Regions from separate parts of the Homo sapiens genome. Here all the other regions are linked to region 2. Evidence: promoter capture Hi-C in 16 types of primary human blood cells and fetal thymus (Javierre and others, 2016). All regions are on one chromosome and are shown on one strand. The core of a region is centred on a gene start or on the middle of the fragment in contact, and the rest is flanking DNA. Distances in the headings are between cores, read along the strand shown. Region 1 overlaps CACNA1I (calcium voltage-gated channel subunit alpha1 I). Region 2 holds the start of FAM83F (family with sequence similarity 83 member F). Region 3 overlaps CACNA1I (calcium voltage-gated channel subunit alpha1 I). Region 4 overlaps CACNA1I (calcium voltage-gated channel subunit alpha1 I). Region 5 overlaps CACNA1I (calcium voltage-gated channel subunit alpha1 I). Region 6 holds the start of MIEF1 (mitochondrial elongation factor 1). Region 7 overlaps CACNA1I (calcium voltage-gated channel subunit alpha1 I).

What was found. The method cuts DNA at HindIII sites, captures the fragments that hold promoters and counts their contacts. A CHiCAGO score of 5 or more calls a contact.
Region 1: a fragment that was not itself captured here is called in contact with the fragment with the promoter of FAM83F in region 2 in 10 of 17 cell types (M0 macrophages, endothelial precursors, activated CD4 T cells and 7 more); the score reaches 8.5 in M0 macrophages.
Region 3: a fragment that was not itself captured here is called in contact with the fragment with the promoter of FAM83F in region 2 in 10 of 17 cell types (activated CD4 T cells, M0 macrophages, M1 macrophages and 7 more); the score reaches 9.3 in activated CD4 T cells.
Region 4: a fragment that was not itself captured here is called in contact with the fragment with the promoter of FAM83F in region 2 in 13 of 17 cell types (M0 macrophages, M1 macrophages, M2 macrophages and 10 more); the score reaches 12.8 in M0 macrophages.
Region 5: a fragment that was not itself captured here is called in contact with the fragment with the promoter of FAM83F in region 2 in 2 of 17 cell types (M0 macrophages and M1 macrophages); the score reaches 6.2 in M0 macrophages.
Region 6: a contact is called between a fragment that was not itself captured here and the fragment with the promoter of FAM83F in region 2, in 2 of 17 cell types (naive CD4 T cells and erythroblasts). The highest score is 5.8, in naive CD4 T cells.
Region 7: a fragment that was not itself captured here is called in contact with the fragment with the promoter of FAM83F in region 2 in 9 of 17 cell types (M0 macrophages, activated CD4 T cells, M1 macrophages and 6 more); the score reaches 9.0 in M0 macrophages.

Annotation. Positions count from the first base shown.
Region 1 is chr22:39,591,879-39,595,023 of GRCh38, forward strand. The region is part of intron 1 of CACNA1I (calcium voltage-gated channel subunit alpha1 I); the gene reads left to right. Among named protein-coding and RNA genes, the nearest start is that of CACNA1I, 23 kb to the left of the region's middle. RefSeq lists an enhancer at 1-839. The HindIII fragment of the contact is 440 bases long and covers 1,140-1,579 here.
Region 2 is chr22:39,993,682-39,996,672 of GRCh38, forward strand. It overlaps FAM83F (family with sequence similarity 83 member F), which reads left to right and starts at 1,273. Exons shown (of 5, transcript NM_138435.4): 1 at 1,273-1,850. The coding sequence starts at 1,362. LOC124905155 reads left to right here. Exons shown (of 2, transcript XM_047441700.1): 2 at 667-1,087. The coding sequence ends at 1,087. RefSeq lists an enhancer at 988-1,621 and a silencer at 1,196-1,315. The HindIII fragment of the contact is 8,768 bases long and covers 1-2,991 here.
Region 3 is chr22:39,607,895-39,611,099 of GRCh38, forward strand. The region is part of intron 3 of CACNA1I (calcium voltage-gated channel subunit alpha1 I); the gene reads left to right. Among named protein-coding and RNA genes, the nearest start is that of CACNA1I, 39 kb to the left of the region's middle. The HindIII fragment of the contact is 4,472 bases long and covers 1-3,205 here.
Region 4 is chr22:39,639,748-39,642,947 of GRCh38, forward strand. It overlaps CACNA1I (calcium voltage-gated channel subunit alpha1 I), which reads left to right. Exons shown (of 37, transcript NM_021096.4): 6 at 1,120-1,435; 7 at 3,050-3,142. Among named protein-coding and RNA genes, the nearest start is that of CACNA1I, 71 kb to the left of the region's middle. The HindIII fragment of the contact is 3,303 bases long and covers 179-3,200 here.
Region 5 is chr22:39,670,985-39,674,235 of GRCh38, forward strand. It overlaps CACNA1I (calcium voltage-gated channel subunit alpha1 I), which reads left to right. Exons shown (of 37, transcript NM_021096.4): 27 at 1,215-1,324; 28 at 1,965-2,098; 29 at 2,979-3,049. Among named protein-coding and RNA genes, the nearest start is that of CACNA1I, 100 kb to the left of the region's middle. The HindIII fragment of the contact is 2,897 bases long and covers 140-3,036 here.
Region 6 is chr22:39,500,187-39,503,134 of GRCh38, forward strand. It overlaps MIEF1 (mitochondrial elongation factor 1), which reads left to right and starts at 2,104. Exons shown (of 6, transcript NM_019008.6): 1 at 2,104-2,251. LOC105373035 (a long non-coding RNA gene) reads right to left here and starts at 1,974. Exons shown (of 3, transcript XR_938263.4): 1 at 1,848-1,974; 2 at 1,078-1,406; 3 at 306-382. RefSeq lists enhancers at 1,884-2,385, 2,243-2,292, 2,386-2,885 and a silencer at 2,393-2,502. The HindIII fragment of the contact is 2,269 bases long and covers 440-2,708 here.
Region 7 is chr22:39,572,927-39,575,995 of GRCh38, forward strand. The region is part of intron 1 of CACNA1I (calcium voltage-gated channel subunit alpha1 I); the gene reads left to right. Among named protein-coding and RNA genes, the nearest start is that of CACNA1I, 3.7 kb to the left of the region's middle. RefSeq lists an enhancer at 1,846-2,347. The HindIII fragment of the contact is 391 bases long and covers 1,268-1,658 here.

The sequences.
Region 1 (3,145 bases), core at 110-2,609, 400 kb before region 2:
GAGGCTCCTTGGCAAACAGACACTCAGGGGCACTGAAGAAGTGTTCGCGATTGTCACCATTATTACCACCGGCAGGCTGGCGCCTGGCACACAACAGGCACACAATATAAGCACATTCATTCCCCCTGCTCAGCTCTGAGACCCCAGTTCTGAAGACTTTGAGAGGTGTGGTGCGGGGACGTGGGTAGGAAGTGGGGCTGAGGGCCCAGGCTGTGCTGAGGCGCTGGGGGGCTCTGCAGCAGCACCCAAAGACCCTGAGTGATTTTCTCCCCGAGGCCTGTGTGCTTGGGACGGCTTTGCCTGCCAAGGAAACTCGATTGATTGCATCACCATTGATCTGTTTCTCCATCTGTGTTCCTCAAAGGCGCTCAGGGCTGCCCGTCAGGGATCTAACCAGCTTAAAGTGATGGTACTGTGGCTGTGCCGAGTGTGTGGGGAAACGCGGAGGGTTTCCGTGTGAGTTTGAAAAATCGACTGTGGCTTGGGGACCCCCGTGGGTGGTGAGTCTGTTGTCTAAGTGTCACTTCAGCTCTGGGCTTGCTGTGGAGCTGGGACAGATTTCTGCCCCTGTTTTCCATCAGTGCAATGAGGGATTGGAGCCGTTGCTCTCTAACGACGCTGGCAGGGCTGCTCTGTGGCAAAGGTCACCCCGACTGCAGTGAGGGCCTGAGGGGTGAAGTAGGCGAGGCAGCTGGGCCTTGGATGCCCGTCGCAGGGCTTCAAGCCTCGCTGTGAGAGGCAGTTGGGAGCCATTGAAGACGTCCTGCCGTCGTGGCACTAGCACTCCAGCCCTGCCCCCTCTGTCACCCAGAAATCCTGTGCTCCCCCTTGGGTCTCCAGCTTCCCTCAGGTTGTCCCCGAACCTCACGGCTTCGCTTGCCTGTGTTCTCAGAGAGTTCCTCAACACTTGTGACTCATGGTGGAAGCATGAGGCGTCAGGCCAGGCTGCAGAGTGGCTCAAGCCGGAGACCTTGACTCCCCCCGCCACCCTCCTACCCCACACTGCACTGTCTGGTTTAACTTCAAGGAGGGCTGGTGCTTTTGATCCCTGAGCCAGTGGGGAGTGTGTCAGGAACCGCGGGCAGTGATGCCAGTTCTGGCCTGACTTCTAAGCCTCCTGGGCTCTTGGAAGGGGCCCAAGCTTTGCCATCTGGGATTTCCCCGGGCACCTCTGGGCAAGGGCTGAGACCATCCATTGCTGAATTTCTGAAGCTGAGCAGCCCAGGGATGAAAGCCACTCCATCTGCCTCCTGCGGGGACCCAGTGCAGTGGGCGAGTTAGATGGGCCACAGAGGCAGTGCTGTGCAGCGGCCACCAGCACTGCTGTGAATCAGACAATCTGGGCTGCTCGGGGACTGGGTGACCTTGTGTGAGTGGTGTCAGCTCTCCAGGCTTGTTCCTTTTCCATCCCCAGGGGATTGTGAGAGCTGAGGTCATGTCCCTAGGGTGTCTGGTACACAGTCGTCAGAGGTACTGCCAAATTCATCACTGTGGTACGTGCTAGCCAGGGCAGGTGGGAGTGCTTCTGGAGAGGAGGCTGAGCCACCACCTTGTGAGGGGCAAGAGGCACATCCGGGGAAGCTTCAAGAAGAGGTGACCTGCGAACTGGGCTCTGAAACAGTCTGCCTGCTGGAGAGGTGGAGGAAAGGGAAAGTGTAGGCAGAAGGCGTGTTTGGAGAAAGCGAGTGCTGAGGCCAGTGAGTGATAAGACTGCAAGGATTCACTGAGGCGAGAGTCTACCTTGCGTACCAGGCTTGGGAGGGTGATGGGGAGCCATGGGAGGTTCTTGAGCAGGAGAGAGGCATCTGGAGAGTGTGTTTCAGGCAGATTAGCCTGGCAGTGGCAAAACAGCTTGGAGGCAGGAAAAGCCTCCAGCCTGAGGTTTTGTGTCTCAGCTCTGCTCTTTTCCAGCTGGTGACCTTGGGCCAATCTGTTTCCCTTTTGTGTCTTGGTTTCCTTATTTGTAAATGGGGCTTATAAAAGAGCTGTGAGGATTAAATGAGATAACATTTGGAAAATGTTCAAGTTGTGTTGGGCACACAGCAAGTGCCTGGTTATCGTGTGGGGCAGATTGGAGGGGCAGAGACCAGAGCTGGGGGATACCGAGGATGCTGGGTCAGGGTCCTGGGGAGACACACTGAAGATGGGCTGAGAGGCCTCAGGGGAGGGAGGAGAGCCATGGGCAGAGACAGGCCGTACTTCACAGAGGAGAGCGCTGGCCTTGGAGTCCAGCAGGCCTGGTGTGAATCTCTGTGCCAGTAATTCCTAGCTGTGAAACCCAGGAGAGGCCCCTGATTTCCCCATGTCTCAGCCTTCCTTATCTGTAAAATGGGCCTGCTGACCTCCACTGCTCAGGGCCTTGTTGAGGAGGCAGCAGGGGCACCGGGCTCCTGGGAGACGCCACTAAGTGCACTTTGAGCCTGAAACTGGCAGGAGGGGCAGAGGGAGCAGAGGATGGGGCTGGAAGGAGAGAGCGCACGACAGGAAGAGGGGAAAGGCGAGGGGGATGGGGGATGTTCTTTGGTAATTAGAATGTTCGAACTTCAAAAAAGTTAATTAATGATGAAGCTGCTGCTGGAGCCAGGCTCAGGCTCGAAGGGGGCCCTGGCAGCGACTGAAATTAATTACAGGCTATGGCGGGAGAGTGGCAGTGGGGTGAGGGGACGGGAAGGAGCAGGGCTGGGGCCAGGAGGAGCTGAGAAGAGGCCACGAGTAGGCAGCATCCCAAAGTGGGCAGGGCTGGGGATGGGAGGGAGGCTGTTGCCATGGAAACCAGGTCACCTCTCCCACTCCTCTCTGGGTGGGGTCCTGCTGAGGGTTTGGCTGGTGTGGCTACATCCCAGCTAAGGGCAAGGGCTTTGAAATGGAGGGGTGAGGGGTTTGCTTGGAGACACTCCTGAGTCCCCGGATGTTGGAGTGGGCAGGGCCCCTAGAGATTTACAGTAGCACCCCCCCTTACCCACAAGGGACACATTCCAAGACCCCCAGTGGATGCCTGAAGCCACAAATAGCACTGAACCCTATATTTACTATGTTTTTTTCCTATACCTGCATACCTGGATAAAGTTTAATTTATAAATCAGGCATTGTAAGAGATGAGTAGCAACCAATAATAAAATAGAACAATCACGCCAGGCGCGGTGGC
Region 2 (2,991 bases), core at 23-2,522:
TTTTTCCAGAGCATGAAAGGAAGGCCTAGAAATGGTAAGTGACCTTTTCAAATCCCCTGGGGTGAAAACCAGGTCCCCAATAACCTGTCGTTTCACAAGAAAAGGAGAAAGGGTAAAGGCGGCCGTGATGTCAGCGAAAGACCTCCAAGACAGAAAACCTTGCAGTCCCCGTGCTCTGCCTCTTTCACGGGAGACCTGGGCAACGCACACGTTGCTAGGCCTCAATTTCTTCAACTGTAAAATGAGGGGGTTGGAGGAGCTTGAAAAGCTCCTTCCAGCTCTGAGATGCTGCGCTATAAAGTGAGAGAAATGTGAACCTTTAGTTGTTATGATCTGAAAATATTTTGAATGTGGAGAATCAAATTGTAGAGCAGTGCATGAACAACATAATATGTTAATGACTAAGACGATTGTATTTAATCCGATGGGAAACAGCAGAGCTGCTGCCACCGCTGCTGTGTGTGTGCGTGTGTGTGGTGTGCACGCACGTGCGGTTTCCTTCCTTGAGCTCAAACATACATTTTGAATCACTAATATAGTAATCATGTCTCTGGCAGCCTATCTTGCCCAAACACACACGGAGAGACACCACACACCCTACTTCAAATTAAGGTGGGGGCGGGGGGAATTCCACTGCTGCTCTTTACATCATTTCTGTTTGGATAGCTATTTTTTAAAAGAAAGTTTTACAGTGAAGGTGTTGGACTCCCAGCCCAGAAGGGCTCTGATCTCAGAACTGGGACGCAAGGGTGGGGAGCTCGAGCTCTCATTAGCATTTCGCTTTTGCACACCCCCTGCCCGCTCCTCAGCCGTCACAATCCCGTCCTGCAGCAGGCCCCCCCACCAACACCGGACCCTCGACGGGGAAGGGGTCAGCTCGGCGGCCCCAGAGGCCACTGGGCCAGAACACGTGCTCCGGACTCCACGTGCGCGGAAAATGAACTCGTACCCGCGACGCGGCCGGCGGGGGCGGATGGCAGCGAGGGCCGGACAGCGAACCTTTACCCCGCGGAGGAGTCGGGGCCGGAGCCCGCACGTGGGTCTGCGACGGCCCCGCCCCCTGGGGGCGTCCCCTCAGGGACTCTAGCCCCGGCTGGTGGGCCCTGCAGGCCCGGGCCCGACCGCGTCCGCCAGGCCGCCCGGAGGTCCCGGCGAGCCCGGCGGAGGCGGCGGCCCCTCCCCGCCCGACGGCCACGCCCGCGCGGATTGGCCGCTCCCCGACGGCGGGGCGGGGCGGGACGGGCCGGGGCAGAGCTCGCGGCCAGGTGAGGCGCCCCGCCCCTCGGCGGCTCCAGGTGCGGCTGTGGGACCTCGGACCGCGGCGGGGCCGGGGCCAGGGCCGGGGCCGGGGCCGGGGCGCCATGGCCGAGTCCCAGCTGAACTGCCTGGACGAGGCGCACGTGAACGAGAAGGTGACCGAGGCGCAGGCCGCCTTCTACTACTGCGAGCGGCGGCGGGCCGCGCTGGAGGCGCTGCTGGGCGGCGGCGAGCAGGCCTACCGCGAGCGGCTCAAGGAGGAGCAGCTGCGGGACTTCCTCTCCAGCCCGGAGCGCCAGGCCCTGCGGGCCGCCTGGAGCCCCTACGAGGACGCCGTCCCCGCCGCCAACGCCCGGGGCAAGAGCAAGGCCAAGGCCAAGGCCCCCGCGCCGGCGCCGGCTGAGTCCGGCGAGTCCCTGGCCTACTGGCCCGACCGTTCCGACACCGAGGTGCCTCCTCTGGACCTGGGCTGGACGGACACTGGTTTCTACCGCGGCGTGAGCCGGGTCACGCTCTTCACCCACCCGCCCAAGGACGAGAAGGCGCCGCACCTCAAGCAGGTGGTCAGGCAGATGATCCAACAGGCCCAGAAGGTAGGCCCCCGCCTTCGCCCCCACACCGCTGGGACCTCGGCCCCAGTCCCCTGGACCGGGCCCCACCTCCCAGGCAGGGCCCGGGGCAGGCCGCCCTGAGCACCCTCTGGAAAATGGGCCCCAACCCGCCCCTACTTCCTGGGGCTGCAGTGAGGCCTGTAGAGCGAATGGCTGGGAACGTGTTTGGCAAATTACAAGGTGCTGGACAGATGTCAGCCGTCGGTATTCCAGCGTTCAGAGGCACTGGCTCTGCTCTGTACTTCTGAAACTTCCCTGTCCAGCCTTCCTCCCCAGGGAAGACTGGGGGCCGAGGCCCTGTGGTTAAAATGCACCACTCAAAGGTCTTGATGATAACCTACGTGCTGCCCAGAACATATCCCGAGCCGCTTTCTCATGTGATCGTCAAAACAACTTCAGGGAGTGGGTGGCGGTGACCTTCCCGGTCCCACCTCTGCCATGCTGCTCCTTGGACCACCCCTCTCCTCCCATAGTCAAAGCTGAGCTGGCGCCCTCACAGTCACAGCCTCTCCTGGGCCGGGTACTAGGCCCCAGCTGCCTGGAATGAATGGGGGACGGGGTATATTGAGGACCTACTGTGTGCCTGGCCCTGTGCTGGGCGCCTTGGCACAGCAGGTCACCTGACTCGGCAGCTCAGGAAAGGGCTCCTACTTAGCATATGTGTCCTGCTTGAGAGTTGGAAGGAGGGGCTGTTTCCAGGGTGGCTGGTGAGGCCAGTCCACTGTGGAACAGGTGGAAGACTTTAATCTTTATGCCTTTGGGTGGGAGTCCTGGGCAGCTTCCAGATCAAATGTAGGATGCCCCACTACATTTGAACTTTCAATAAACAACACATAACTTTTTAGTATCAGCTTATCCCAAACATGACATGAGACGTACTGATACTGAAAAATTCTTCGTTGTGTATCTGAAATTCAAATTGAATGGGAACGTTTTGTACTTTTATTTGCTAACTCTGGCTGCCCTACACTGAGATTTGTTAAGAAACAGCAGCAGCTTTTGGTGCCCAATTCAGAATAATACAACAGGAGTGGCTTGGGTTCACCACTCAAATTCCACTCAGTGAGTGAGGTTGGAGTCCTGGTTCCCCTCGAGGCTGAAGAGGCCTGAGGAGGGAAAATAG
Region 3 (3,205 bases), core at 307-2,806, 390 kb before region 2:
CGGGGGGGGGTCACCTGAGGTCAGGAGTTCGAGACCAACATGGTGAAACCCTGTCTCTACTAAAAATACAAAAAAATTAGCTGGGCGTGGTGGCAGACACCTGTAATCCCAGCGGGAGGCTGAGGCAGGAGAACTGCTTGAACCCAGGAGGCGGAGGTTGCCATGAGCCCAGATCGTGCCACTGCACTCCAGCCTGGGCAATGAGAGTGAAACTCCATCTCCAAAAAAAAAAAAAAAAAAAAAATACAAATACAAATTCAAAAATTAGCCAGGCGCAGTGGCGCACACCTGTAGTCCCAGCTGTTTGGGCGGCAGGAGAATAGCTTGAACCGGGTGGTAGAGAGGTTGCAGTGAGCCAAGATTGCACTCCTACACTCCAGCCTGGGAGACAGAGTCTCAGTCTCTAAAAAAGAACTTCTGTGATCACCCAGTCCAGTGGTGTGTGTCAATTGTTCCAGCTACTCAGGAGGCTGAGGTGGGAGGATATCTTGAGCCCAGGAGTTAGAGATCGGTCTGGGCAACATAGCGAGAGCCCATTTCTTTAAAACATTTTTTAAAAAAGAATTTCTATGATCATTAATAGTATTAATAAAGTAATATTAGTAACTTAGCACCTTGGCTAGAGGGTGAGAAGGAGAGGCTGGGTTAGGACTTGTATCCTGGGCTGAGTGCAGTGGCTCTTGCCTGTAATCCCAGCACTTTGGCAGGCCGAGGTGGATGGATCGCTTGAGCTCAGAAGGTTGAGACCAGCCTGGGCAACATGGTGAAACCACAGCTAAAAAAAAAAAAAATGTGTGTGTCTGTAGTCCCAGCTACTCAGGAGGCTGAGGTGGGAGGATTGCTTGAGGCTGGGAGGCGGAGGTTGCAGTGAGCCAAGATTGCGCCACTACACTGCAGCCTGGGTGACAGAGTGAGATCCTGTCTCAAAAAAAAAGAAAAGAGAAAAAAAAAATTTATTGTACCCTGGAAACATGGTCTCTGGAATGCTGGGAACAGCTTCTCCACCCTGACTCTTACAGACTCTTGGGAAACAAAAAGCCACTAAGAATTGTTCCTCAGCTCTGGGCTAGGGCTTTCTAGAAAGATCAGGCAGGTATGTCCCTGCTGAGGTTGCTGGCTGAGAGTTCCTTTTTTCCAAAGTGCCCCATCAGTGGGACTTCAAAAGGCAAAGGTAATTTAATTCTCTGATGCCTCCAGGAGTGTGATAAGAATAAGGACGCTGACTGCTGAGTGCTCACACCGTGCATCATCCTGTTGAATGGTCAGACAAGCCCTGTGAGGGCTGTGGTCAGTTCCACCTCACAGATGAGGCAGTGACAGGAGTAACTTGCCTGAGGTCACAGGCTGGTAAGGGGCAGAGTCAGGAGTTGAACCCAGGGAGCTTAGCTCCACCAGCTCCACCAGGATTGGGTCCTGGTTCAGTGTGACTGCTGGGTGTATTTGTCAGGGATGCATTTGGCTGCAAGTAATAGAAAACCCAACCAACTGTGGCTCAGGCAAATCCTGAATCCGTGTTTTTCTGACATAACACAAAGTTCTGGTTACTGGTGATAGTTCTGCAGTGTGGGGGCTGACATCCTTGTGATTTTCCAGGCCTTTCTTTCATGGTCACAAGGCAGCCGGTGAAGCCGTGGGTGTCATGTCTGAATTAAAGACAGGAAAGAAGGGTGAAGAGTGACAGGGCATGTCCACTTGGATCAGGAAAATGAGATTTTCTTTCCGGGATCCTTCCCTTCCCTAGTGCATTTGGCCAGAACTGGGTCTGATGGACACCTGAGTGGCAGCAAGGCTAGGAAAGCAGAAAGCATCATTGAACTTGGCTAAATCAAACAAGAGTTGTTCCTTGGGTTCAGGCAAGATCACAAGAGAGAGAACGCCCATCATGGGGGCACTCCGAGTCAGCCACATTCCTCTCCTTGAGCCTCAGTTTCTTCACCCACCCTCTGCCAAAGCCGTGGCTCTACCATGTCTCCAAGCCCTGGTTAGAGCTTCTGGAGCTCTGCCTGTGCTGACTGGGCAGGGGCAGGGCTCTGTTGAGATCTCTAACGTCAATACCAACCTAGGCAAGCTCCACAGAGCCCAGTGCCTGTCAGCAGATCCTGCTGTGGTCATGGGAATCAGAAGGCAATCACTTGGATGCCCAGAAGCCTTTGGAGCTGGCCTTCCTGCACAACTCTGTGTGCACTATTGGTGGGTAAGGGAAGCCCTCCGAATGTCTTGAAGCCCAGGGGACCCTTCTGGTTTTGTCATTGACTTTACACTCTGATCTATCCTGGACTTACAGGTCTGTCTGCCCTGCGGCTGTGGATGCTCAGATGCACTGGGTGCTCTGAGGGCAGGACCAAGGCTAGTCATCATCCTGAAGTCCCCAGAGCCGTGGAGGCATCATTACATGTTTGTTTCCTGTCTGTTGCACCCAGGCACGAAAGAGCTGGGGAGAGGATATCTGGAGCCATTTTCTTTAAGCTGAGCTGCCGTTGGGTGGGCGTGGACTGGGGAAGGTTCCAATAGGAACCTTAGTGTGTTTTTCTCATTTGCATATGGGATGGGATGGGAGAGAGGGTGATGGTCACTGTGGAGGCTCGTTTCCATGGAAACAGGATGGTAGCTGCCATGTGTGATGTTGGGGGAAGTCACCAGAGATTCTCTGGCCACAGGCTGAGGTGCCTGACACGGGTCAATCATGAATCGGGAAGGACTATCTCTGTTACGTGGGACAGAAACCCTGAATCTGGTTTAAGGGAGTCAACTGTTTCCTCTACTGAAAAGCCAAGAGGTCTCCAGCTTCAGGGCCCGCTTGCTCTAGAATCCTGAAAGATGTCTCTAGATGGTGTGTGCTCCTATCCCACAGCTCTGCTAGTCTGTGCTGACTTCCCTCCCTGGAGCTTTCACGGTGGCAGGGTGGTGGCAGGCAGCTCGGGGCTCAGTGCCGACTCCCTCCAGTTCAGACACACCTTTCCTTTCCTAGCAGTTCCAATCAGTCCTGGGAACTGAGCCTCTTTGGCCTGGATTGGCTGGTGTGGGGCATGTGCTCATCCCTAAGCCAATCACTGAGGGTAGGGTGGGCAGAGCTCCTATAGGCCAGACGGAGGTGAAGGCTCACCCCTGGCAGGATGTGTCAGCTGTGCCCCTATCACGTGGCTGAGGGTGGGGAGGCTGGTCAGGGAGGCTGGAAAGGGATGCTGGACAGGGAGGATCCCAGGCC
Region 4 (3,200 bases), core at 580-3,079, 350 kb before region 2:
AAAAGCCATCTCTGTGATATACTAAGTTCTCCTTTGTACATGGGTTTGTCTTTGTGCTCTATGGCATTCCATTAACCTTTCTGTTCCTGTCACAGTGCTACACTGTATTAACAATCATAGTTGTACAGTATTTTGCTCTCTTATAGATCTGGTTTCTGTTTATCTCTCTCCTTTTTAAAGCTTGTCTTGACTATTTTCCCATCCAAATAAATCCTAGAACCATCTGGGCAGGCTCCACGGCCAAAATGTTGGGATTTTTGATTAGGATTGCAATGAAGCATAGATTAACCCTTCTGGATGGTCATAGTAGGGATTGTTGTCTGTTTTATAGATGAGGAAATCAAAGTCCAGAGAAGGGCAGCCCGGCTCGGTGGCTCACACCTGTAATCCCAGCACTTTGGGAGGCTGAGGTGGGTGGATCACCTGAGGTCAGGAGTTTGAGAACAGGCTGACCAATATGGTGAAACCCCATCTCTACTAAAAAAACAAAAATTAGCTAGGTATGGTGGTGTGCACCTATAGTCCTATCTACTCAGGAGGCTGAGACAGGAGAATTGCTTGAACCCAGGAGGTGGAGGTTGCAGTGAGCCAAGATCTCACCACTGCACTCCAGCCTGGGTGACAGAGTGAGACTCGGTCTAAAAAAGAAAAAAAAGAAACGAAGTCTAGAGAGAGGAAGTGATCAGCCCAGGATCACTTACATGGAAGTGGGTGGAGCAGATGGAGGATCTACCTGTCATCTGCTAGATCGGTAAAAGCCAGTGCTTGTTTACTGACCACCTGCTCTGTCTGTGCGAACCCAACAGTGTGTGTGGCCTGGGGATGCTGAGATGTCCAGACTCCCGAGGGAGTTGAGGGCATCTCCCCCAGGAGCCATAATGAAGGTGTGTGCAAGGCACAGTGAGGCTCCCCAGAGAAGGGGACCACAGTGGGCCAGTGGGGGTTTTCATGGCCATAACAGAGGTGGGGAAGGGTGACCAAGGCAGGGGAACAGCATGTGCCAAGGCCTGGAGGCAGTGACAAGGCCATCCTGCTATGCTGCATGGCCTCTCCCTTCCTGATCCTCCTGACAGTGACCCCTCCCCTTTCCCTCTTTTACCCACCCTCGCCTGTGGACAGACAAGGGGATGTGGCCTTGCCCCCATACTACCAGCCGGAGGAGGATGATGAGATGCCCTTCATCTGCTCCCTGTCGGGCGACAATGGGATAATGGGCTGCCATGAGATCCCCCCGCTCAAGGAGCAGGGCCGTGAGTGCTGCCTGTCCAAGGACGACGTCTACGACTTTGGGGCGGGGCGCCAGGACCTCAATGCCAGCGGCCTCTGTGTCAACTGGAACCGTTACTACAATGTGTGCCGCACGGGCAGCGCCAACCCCCACAAGGGTGCCATCAACTTTGACAACATCGGTTATGCTTGGATTGTCATCTTCCAGGTGAGGCCATTCAGGCCTGGGGCCAGCCTGGTCCTAGAGTGGGCAGCTCTGCCTGGTGGGCAGGGCTCTGTGCTAGGCATTTGCCAGCCCTCATCTCACTGAAACCTGCCCAGCTTGCTGGCAGAATAGGCATTATCATGCCCATTTTATAGACAGAGAACCCAAGGTTCAAAGAAAGGAAGCAAGCTAATTGACCACAGATGATGTGACTATTAAATGGCAAAAATAGGCTCTTAACCCAGCTCTGGGTGTCCCCAAAGCCTGAGCTCTTTGCAGAGCCTCAGGCTGCCTTGGGCCCTATGGATCCCAGCAGGGAGGGCTGTTCAGAGAGGAGAGGCAGGATTCAAGCTCTGTTGGAGGGATTGGCTGACCAAGGCCAGGATCATGGGGTAGGAGGACATTCCTGGTGGGGACAGCCTGAGCAAAATTCTGGTACAGGGAGTGCCAAGTAGCTCATCTGGAGTCAGAAAGAAATGTGTCTCGCCTTGTCACCCAGTGCACATAATGCACACAGGTTCACAAAGCAGCACTAGCCTCATGGCGTGCAAAGGGCTTGTTGCGTGGCCCCACTGCACTGACTGTCAGCCTATACTCTGCAGAGGATGGGCTGGGATATGTGTAGGGAAAGAACTAGGGCAGTGGACCTTGGCCAGTATTGCTTGGCCTCTCTGTGCCTCAGTTTTCCCATCTTTAAAATGGGGTAATAACAGCCCCCCTCACCTTGGGTCATTGTTAAGAATAAAGCAGATGGCACGCTCAGGGCAGCCAGCCCTGTGTACAGAGTGCTGGGTAGAGGTTACCTTTCTGCTGTCCTCAGAAAGAAGGGGCAGGAGCAGACAGAGGGGGAGCTGAGAAGTCCCTGAGGGGGCAGCGGGAGGGCTGAACTCTGCTGCCTCCGCTGCCCTGCGCTGCCTCTGCTGCCCTGTGCTGCCCTCTGCTGCCCTGGGCACTTTGCCCTGGGGAGCATCAGGGTCATTTGTTCAGAGATGCAGGGTGTGAGGTGACGGCAACAGCTGTGTTTTGGAACCCTCTGCCCAGGAGGGTGGGTGGCCGCTCAGGGGGTCCCACTCTGTGCATTTGCCAGAAGCCAACAAGGACCCAGGGTTTGTCTTTCTCAAGGCTGCTCCATCCCCCAGTCTGGGAAGGAGTTGGGGTGGGGTGGGGGGTGACAAAGTCACACCAGCCTCATTGCGGTGTGCACTCCCAGGCTCCACCGAGCTGCACCCCAGCTCTGCCAGGTGGGCTCCCCACATACAGAAGAAGCGGCTGAGACTCAAAGAGGGTGGGTGGCCCAGCTGATAAGCTGGAGCAGGGGCAGGCTCCCTGCTTTTCCAGCCCTCCCGCTGGTGTGGTAGACTGGAGGGACCAAGGTTCAAGTCCTGGCACGTCCCCTTCCTGGCTGTGTGACAGTGGGCAAGTGCTTTCCCCTCACTGAGCCTCAGTTTCCTCACCTGTATAATGTGATGTGCCTTGTCCAGCCCCTGTGAGACAGACTCGAGGCAGCATGTGTGATGCGTTCTGGCACACAGTGGGGCCTCTGTCTGGGGCACTGCCTGGGCTACGGGCTTTCTGATGGGCCAGTCCTCTCGGCTCTCTCTCCTCTGCGCGCTGCAGGTGATCACTCTGGAAGGCTGGGTGGAGATCATGTACTACGTGATGGATGCTCACTCCTTCTACAACTTCATCTACTTCATCCTGCTTATCATAGTAAGTGTCAGGGAGCCTGGGCTCCTAGGTGTGCTCAGAACCCATGGACCAGGGGACC
Region 5 (3,251 bases), core at 338-2,837, 320 kb before region 2:
TTACAAGGTGAGGGTGGGGTCTCAGCAGGACCCCACCCCAGGGATAGGGTGGGGAAGGGGTTAGCTGATAGCAGGATGTGAGCAGCCCCTCCATGCTGGGCTCTATGCTGGGCACTGCAGTGGGAGGAGGTGCCGGACAAGCTTGCCCTCAGGAAGCTCAGAGTCTGGAAGGGAACGGTCAGAGGGAAGGTGGGTCAGGGAGGCAGGATTTGGACCGTGGCTTGCACATGGGTGGCAATGACTGTGATGTGTTAAATATTGACTCTTTGCAAGGCACGCTACATATATGAACTCTTTAATCCTCGCAGCAATCCTAAGGCTGGCAGGGGGAATCCTTTGTCTGGATTTTATAGGTGAAGAGCCTGAGGCTTAGAGAGGTTAAATATGCTGCCCAAATTACTCAGCCATAGGTAGTGGAACCAGGTCTGGAACTTAGATTTGCATTCAAAGCCTACCATGTAGCCTCCTTTACTACCTGGGTATATGGAGACGAGGCAAAAGGGTGGAAGGACCATTTCAGGCAAACACTGGGGGTGGGTGAGGATGACCATTTCCCAGCTTGTTGCAGACCAGGTATGTGAGGGGCATGTGAGGAGCAAGTGCATTCTAAAAACCCTGATGGAGTTGGAGGGGAAGAAGAGGGAAGCAGAGCCGCCAGGTGTGAAATTAATACCTTATTTCAAATGATGGGAGAGGAATATTATGAATGCAGAAAAAAGAAAGATAACCATTGGCAGAATGAAACAATAATTATACAACTTCCAAATTAACAGGAAAAATGGAATATTAATAGCTTACATTTACCAAGTATTATTCTGTTTCCAGCACCGAACTATCAGCTCATTTAATTTGCATACCAGCTTTCTAAGATGAAATGACTTACTCAAGATCATAAGGTGAATATGGAGTGAGCACTAAGCCAGGATTCAAATGTAGGCAGTCTGGCTCAGTAGCTCTTCATTAATACCCTATATTGCCTCCAAAGGTACCAACTCGACCAGATACACATAAATAAGAAAAAGGGAACAGAAGGAATAGCAGCATAAAATAAATAGTACACACTAAGATGGAAAGAATAAAAGCAGCATATAAATAATTACACTAAAAGTAAATGGACTAAATTCTCTCCTTAAAAGGCAGAGACTTTCTGAGTGGAGGAAGGTTGTGGAGCAGGTCATGTGCCCTGGATCATGCTTCTCTTTGTTCCTCCATAGTCCCTGGAGACAGCCCTCAAGTACTGCAACTATATGTTCACCACTGTCTTTGTGCTGGAGGCTGTGCTGAAGCTGGTGGCATTTGGTCTGAGGCGCTTCTTCAAGGACCGGTGAGTGGCCAGGCTGGATTAGGGCAGTAATAGGGTAGACTGCAGGATGAAGAAGCAGTCCTGACCCTTAGGGAAGTCTGGAGCAGCCTGAAGAGGGGAACCAGTAAGCATCTAGGCACGGATGGACAGGCACCCCAGCTGCTGCTTATAGCTCTGAACAGGAAATAATTATGGTATCATCTGATGGGCGTAGGGCATTCTACCTGGCCCTTCTTGGCTCATCTTTGGTACGTTGTCTCTACCCTATGGGCAGAGCAGGGTCTGCCTCATGCTAATACTCCTTTTTGAAGGGAATAGTGAGGCTCAAAGAAGTTGATGGACTAGCCTAAGGCCAGACAGAGAGAGCAGCCAGCTCAAGATTAGACTTGGAAGTCATAGTCCATGCCTCCTCTCCTGCAGGAGGCCAGAGATATTTATTTAGCCTGATCAGCCCCTTGCTTGACGGAGTGATGGCTATGGGGAGCAGAGAGGGGCCTGGACCCAGTGGCGTTAGGAGGGGCTAGTAAGGGAGGGCAGCCACACAGCCTAATGGGCCACAATAGAAGGGTCAGGACCTGGGAGGCTCCCCCCACTAAGGTGTGTCTGAACCAGAGGGATCCTCCTCATGCCCACTCCTGCCCTCCCATGCACGGCTGAGCAGATGGAACCAGCTGGACCTGGCCATTGTGCTACTGTCAGTCATGGGCATCACCCTGGAGGAGATCGAGATCAATGCGGCCCTGCCCATCAATCCCACCATCATCCGCATCATGAGGGTTCTGCGCATTGCCCGAGGTGAGGGGCAAGGGGTGGGACAGGGAACGGGGACAAGCAGGGGCGGGATGAGACTCCTCATTGCCTGATGAGAACACACAGGAGTGGGGTGGGGAGGGGTGGGGGCAGGAGTTTGCAGGCATGGTGGGCTCCTTGCTGAACAGGGGTGAGAAGGAGCTGGGAGGCACACAGCCAACACACACGCATGCACCCTCTGTGTGCACACACCTCCCCCAACACACAGGCAACTTTGCATAGCACACATGGACACACACTCCCACTTCCTTATGACGCCATGACCCATGGGGTCCAGTCTCAGAGTGTGATGCAAGGAACCCAGTCCAACTGGGAAGATGTGAAACACCTCCAGTTCCTCGCTGGCATTTCTCAAACACAGTGACTGGGACGCACGGTCTTCAGAGATCCTTCTCCCTCCCCTCAAGGTAGTTCGTACACTTCTTTTAAAAGCCTCCTGCCTCAGGGCGAGCCCAGGTGCCTCTTGCTCTTCTGCCTGCCAGAAACTCAGCGAGTGATGCCAGAGTCCTCTTTATCGAGAGGGGAAGAGAAGAGATGTGGCCACTCACGCTGGTCCTTTGTGCCCGTGACAGTTCATGGCCCACCCATTCACACACTTCATAGACCTCAGTTTCCATGAGTATGCCCCGTCCTCGGGGGCTTTTCTACAGTGACACCCACGCCTTGTGTCCACATGTTTTTGTGCATGCCCCACTCACCCTGTGGCTGCACCCACATTCTTGTAATGTGGTATCTGAGAGCCAGACTCTGCTTGCACGTGCCTTCATGTTCTCTTCTCCCAAGTTTACACACGTGCACACATGCGTGCACACACACGTCCCCACCGGCCTGGGGCTGAGTGGGCAGGGCTGGGTCTCGCCCGCAGTGCTGAAGCTGTTGAAGATGGCCACAGGAATGCGGGCCCTGCTGGACACGGTGGTGCAAGCTTTGCCCCAGGTAAGAGCCACTCTTTCTGGCAGCCCTCCTAGGGGTCATTGGTGTCAGGCTGGGCCCTGGGGCATGAAGGCCCTGATTTCCCTTCTCCTCACATCTGCCAGAGCCAGGGCAGATGCTGTCTCTGGGGATGCATTTTGAGCCAGGGGCTGAGAGGCAGGAAGGGTCCCTTTATGCCTCTTTCTTCCAGTTTCACCATGTGGTT
Region 6 (2,948 bases), core at 324-2,823, 490 kb before region 2:
AACCTGGCAGAGCCCTGAGGTTTGGGTCAGTGCCCCCTGCCGTGGGTCTCTGGCCTACAAAGGCACCATGGGTACGTACATGTAAGTGCTAGATACCACCTCACTGCCCACACTCCATTGCCACGGAAGCATCGGGGGCAGGGAGAGGCCTTGTCAGTCTAAGTAAAGATAAGACCCTGAAGAGCAAGTGGATCTAGAGGGGCTGATCCGAAGGGGAGACCCCTCCAAATGACCTCCCTCTGTCCCTCCCTCCGAAAAATAACATTCCATAGAACAAGAAAGTCAGGAGAGATATGAAGAGGTCATCTGGTATGCCGATGGAAATGCCACCAATTATATTTATTTGGGTCACAAAATTCTTTAAAAAGCAAATTAGGGCAGCCTGAAAGAGTGGAAAGAACACACATTTCAGAGTAAGACAGACTTGGCTTCCACTGAAAGCTTCTTTCCTTCTTAGCTCAGTGTCTTAGAAACTACTATGCCTCTCTCCATCTTGGTTTTCTTTTCTTTTCTTTTTCTTTTTTTTGAGACCGAGTCTTGTTCTGTCGCCCAGGCTGGAGTACAGTAGCGTGATCTTGGCTCACTGCAACCTCTGCCTCCCAGGCTCAAGCAATTCTCCTGCCTCAGCCTCCCAAGTAACTGGGATTACAGGTACAATGCCACCACTCCCGGCTAATTTTTGTATTTTTAGTAGAGATGGGGTTTCACCATGTTGGTCAGGCTGGTCTCGAACTCCTGACCTCAAGTAGATCCGCCCACCTCAGCCTCCCAAAGTGCTGGGATTACAGACGTGAGCCACCGTGCCCAGCCCTGCAACAGACTCTTGATTGGTCTCCCTGCCTCAGCCCTGGTTCCATTCCGTTATTCTCAAGCCAGACAGATCCCATTGAAAGGGAAGTCAGATCCCAGCACTTCTTGGCTCTGAACCCTGCTGTGGTTCCTTTGCACCCGCCATCTCCCTCCCAGTTCTGGTAAGGGCCTCCCCTCTGGCCTCTTTCCCAGCTCCTGCTCACTCAGCTGCGAAAGCACTGGCTTTCTCCCTGTGGCTCCTAGACCACGCTGAGCTTAAAGGCTTACCTGGGGGGAGGCCTGAAATGCTCTTCCCTGCAATGTTCTTCTCCTGGTTCTCGTCCTTTTATCAGATAGCCTGACTATTCTGCAATTGCCCACCCCTCTACTGGTAGATATTACCTTTTAATCCTCACCACAGCCCCAAGGCTGGGTGAGGTTAGGAAACTTGGCAGAGGGCAGCTGTCCCTAAGTGGTGGAACTGGAACTAGGAGCCAGCGGTGGCCCCGGTGGCCCCGGACTCCAAAGCCCCAGGCCCTGGGCTTGGCAGAGCCAGGCATGGAGGGAGGCAGTTGGGGGAGGGAGCTTCCATAGAGACACGGCCTCCGTCCTCAAATCTAGTGAGAGACAGAGAAGCAAATGGATAAATTACAGTGCCTGGCATATGGTAGGCGCCAAGAAATACGTTTTGTTGTTGAACAGATTATGAGGCGTAAGATGTGCAGACATTTCCGTGGGGCCCAAAGAAGGCACGTGAGTGTGTTAGAGGGAGGCGAGGAAGGGGCTGGGAGAGATTTCCCAGTGAAGGGGGGCATTTGAGGTAGACTTTGAAGGAAGGGTAGGAGTTTGCCAGAAGCCATGGGGCCTGGGGAGTAGGAACAGCATGGAGGGATGAAAAGAAGGCGATCTGAGAAAATGGGTTTTGAGGAGCTCTGAATATTAGTGTTAGAATTCCCTCAGGTACCCCAGGGCCCCAGCCAGAGATCAGCATATACAGTACAGGAGGCTGGCCAGGTACCCCGACAGGCTAAGGGGTTGCCAGCAGGTGAGGGGCCTACCCGGTGCGGCAGCCTTGTTGGACAGCGAGGCTACCTCCTGCCCTCTGAACTTCTGCCAGCATCGGGACCACCCCGGTACCCACAGCCGGACCCGGACACCGGAGTCCTCTGGGGGCGGGGCGCGAGTGGCCTCTGCAGGCCAGTCCCTTGGTGAGGTCACACACGGAGGCGGGGCTCAGGATTGGGGGGCGGAATCATGCGCAGGGGGCGGGGCCCGAGAGAGAGCTTGGAGAAGACCGGAAGTCCCTCCGCCTCCACTCGCCCTCGTGCTCCCTTCAGCCCCTTCGCAGCTCCGTGCGCAAGGTCGTGTCCCGGAAGTGAAGGGGCCATGTTGATGGGTGACCCGGGGAGAGGTACCCGGCCAGAGGCGAGTCCTGCGGAGTGGTAGCGCGCACGGCCTGCGGGTGAGTGAGAGAAGGAATGAGGGCCGCCGGCGGCTGGGCGGCGGGGAGGTTGCAGCGCCTCCTCTCAGGCTGCTGCCGGCGCCTCGCATGCGGCCCGGAGTCAGGATACCAGCATGCAGCCGGGGGTCTCGCCCCATCCCGCCCTGGACTTTCCCCTGGGAGACCCCTCGGCTGCCCCGCCCCGCCCCAACCTCGGAGACCTCCAGTGCCCCGAAGCAGGCCTGCCCTGGCCTCTGGGCCTCCGCACCCCGGCCCGGCCCCCACGGTTGGTGAAGTGCAGACTGGCTGGGGCTCAGCCGCCCAGTCGCCCAGCGACCTTGTAGTTACAGCCCTCGCCGTGACAGTCGCCTTTTACAGCATCAAACACTTCTGTTGATTTTCTGCATCGGGAGGTCCTTAGGGCCGAGGGATCTCTTAAACAGTTGAGGAAAAATGGGCAGGGATGGTGGCTTGCTCAAGCTTGCGCAGGAAGTTAGCAAGGCCGGAGGCTAAGGGCTCGCGGACTTTGGGCCCAAAGTCCAATCTTTTTTTCCAGCCAAATACTTCCCCCACTTGGTGTCATTTCTTTATTTCTGAAACGGAGGTGATCATTTCTTCCACATAGGGACGTTGTGAAATTCTCTCCGTTACGCATAATTTTGAGCCCCTTGTATGTGCCAAGCGCTGTGCTGGGAAAGTTCGTGGAGCACCCAGAAGT
Region 7 (3,069 bases), core at 213-2,712, 420 kb before region 2:
TTGTATTTTTAGTAGAGATGGGGTTTCACCATGTTGGTCAGGCTGGTCTCGAACTCCTGACTCGTGAACCGCCTGCCTCGGCCTCCCAAAGTGCTGGGATTACAGGTGTGAGCCACTGTGCCCAGCCTACGTGGCTAGTTTTAATACAAAGCACTGGGGAAACCTCAGGGGCTTGTGGCATGTGAACAGAGGAGTGCCAGGCCTGAGAAGGGGGCGGCCGCAGGAATTTTGGGCCTTTAGGAAGAGAAAGGCTGGTAGGAGGACCAGGGGGACAATTTCACAATGTCTCAGGGGCCTTTCCTGGGTGAGATGACAAGAGTTGATTCTGGCTCTGTCACTTGGGTGCTGTGTGACCATGAGTAAGTCACTTTGCTTCTTTGAACCTTAGGGGGTCTGGATGGGCAATACTGCTCTGGGCTGGAGGCAGGGGCATGGCTCAGAGGACTTGGCCTGGGAGTCTGACCCAGCTGCGTCTCTGATGGGCTCTGGCTGGGCTGGCTGGGGTGCTGCCCACGTGTCACGGAGAGGCCCCTAGATGGGGGTGGTCAAGTCCTGTCTGCCATGTGTGTGACCCTGGGCAGTCTCCTCTCTCTGAGCCTCAGCACCTCCACCTAAAAAGGAGACGGCAGACGAATCACCCCTTCCAGCCCTGGGAGCCCAGGGTGTTAGCCACACACGCCATGGGGGCTGCCTTGATCTCAGGCACCCTGACGCCTGACCACTGAGTGAGCCAGCCCCTGGGAACCCACCCAGTTTTCCATATTTCTGGCCTGTTGGGCAAACAGAGTCCTTGGGGCCACTGTCTCCTTGGTTTTCACCACCCCTCTCACCTCCATCCTCAGGTCATGTGGGTTGTGGCCTGGGGTTGGAGACAACAGTGGGGCTGGCCCAGGAGGGAGAGGAGTACTGGTTTCGGGAGGAGCTGGGCCTGCCTCTTGTCTGTCTTGGAGAGAGCCCTGGGTCCAAGGGGTGGGGCAGAAAGCAGCCCCCCTCCATCAGGAGGGACTTTTCAGTCCCGGGAGCTGCGCAGAGCGAGGGTTCCCCCGGCATCCCCATGGCCAGGGCTGCTGAGGCTGGACTGGGATAGAGGTGGTTCAGGTCTCGGCCTTAACTGGTGGGATACGGACTCTCTTCAGGCCAGAGATGTGGCGACTCAAAAGCACAGCAACTTTAAAGGTGTCAGCTCTGGGACACTCAGACTGAAAACTTCTGCGACAGTCTAAGGGTTCAAAGTTAAGATTTAAGGCTCAGCGACACTGAAATTCTAAGCTTCTGTCATTCAAAGGCTGCAAAATTCTGTGTTTCAAAGAGTGTGTGAGCCTAAGACTTGGTGGCTGTGATGCTGTGTGCCTACGAGTTGGAGGATTCTGGACCCGGTGGCTGCAGCCGCTGCTGGCCTGAGAGTTCATAGCTGAATTGGGTCAGGTGGGAGAGGGGCCAAGGAGGGTTCCACAAACAGAGACCCAGGAGACGTGGCTGTCCATAGGGCTGTCCCCTGGAGCAGAGACTCAGTCGTGGGGAGCTCAGGGTGGGCTTTAGGGGCTTGGGATGGGGTGCGTGTGTGGGTGGGGCAGGGGCTGAAGCCTCTAGGATTCTTTCCTGGCTGGAAACTTCACTCCCTCTTGTGCTCTGTGGGAGGGGGCCTGGGGCAGTGCTTAAGCTTGTACTCCTCAATGGGACACCATTGGCATTTGGGGGTTGACGGTGCTTTGTAGTCTTGTCTGTCTTGCATATTCAATAGTAGTAGTGTCCTTCAATCATTGTGACTACCATAAATGACCTTTCACATGTCTAGACCCTGCAAAGGGCGACTCTTTCCCCCACTGAGAACCCAAAGGGGTGGTGGGTGCGTAGCATCAGAGTCAGGCTGGTGGGAGCTGCTGTCATGATGGCCAGGCCCGGGAAGGGGAGGGCAGCATGGGAGGGTCCCCCAGACAGCCTGTCCTGAGCTCATGTCCTGGTGCTGAGGGGCCCTGGCCCAGAGCCAGCTGCTCTTTGAAGCCTGGTGCTCCCTGACTCAGCTCCTCTTCCAGCCCGGAGCTAGGCCCTGAGTCACCGCCTGACTCACTGGAGAGCCAGCAGGCTGCTGGGACCCTTGTGGAGCCTGCAAGGTGGGGTGGGAAAGGGCCACTCGCCCATATGTCAGCACCGCTCCCTGCCTGGCCTGGGCCGTGGGCATGGGCTGTCAGCTGCAGATGCAGCTGCAAGGCCTCTGGATTCGAAATGTCAGGGGATACATTGTGCTACTTGAATCACGGGGAGGTGGCGTGTGGCACCGTGGAAAGCGCTGGGCACCTGAATCACACAGACCCAGAGGCTGGTTCTGTCTCTTGCTGTGTGACCATGGGTCAGTTTCTTAACATTTCCGAGCCCCAGTTTCCCCACCTGTCAAACACGGGTGGTAATACCCACTCCACAGGGTTGATTGCACTGAGGACAGAGCAGGACAGTGTGACAGTGGAGTTTGGGAACTGGAAAAGCCACCATATGTGTGGTTATCACTCTGATTACCTGTGCCTGAACCCTGAACAGGGCCCTCACGTACTGCTGAGTCAACACTCTGCTTGCTGTAGATTCAATTAGACATTGGGGACAGGTCTTTAGATAGAACATAACACCTTCAGAGGACATTGTTTCCAAGGAACATCAGACCCAATCTCTGTTAACTTAGGTGGATTTGAGCTTGTTCTGCTGCTAGTGGCCATGCCCCCCATCAGTGCAGACATTGCTAATCGAGCCTGCCGGCATTCTCCAGCAGGGCACCTCTGGCAGCTATGGGGAGCCATCAGCCTGAAACCTATTATTATTTTCCACCCTAGATTAGACTTTCAGAGCCTTTCTTTCTTTTCTTTCATTTTTTTTTTTTGAGACAGAGTCTCTCTCTGTCACCCAGGATGGAGTGCAATGGCATGATCTTGGCTCACTGCAACCTCTGCCTCCTGGGTTCAAGTGATTCTCCCACCTCAGCCTCCTGAGTAGCTGGAATTACAGAAGCGCACCACCATGCCGGGCTAATTTTGAATTTTTAATAAGAGATGGGGTTTCACCATTTCAGCCAGGCTGGTCTTG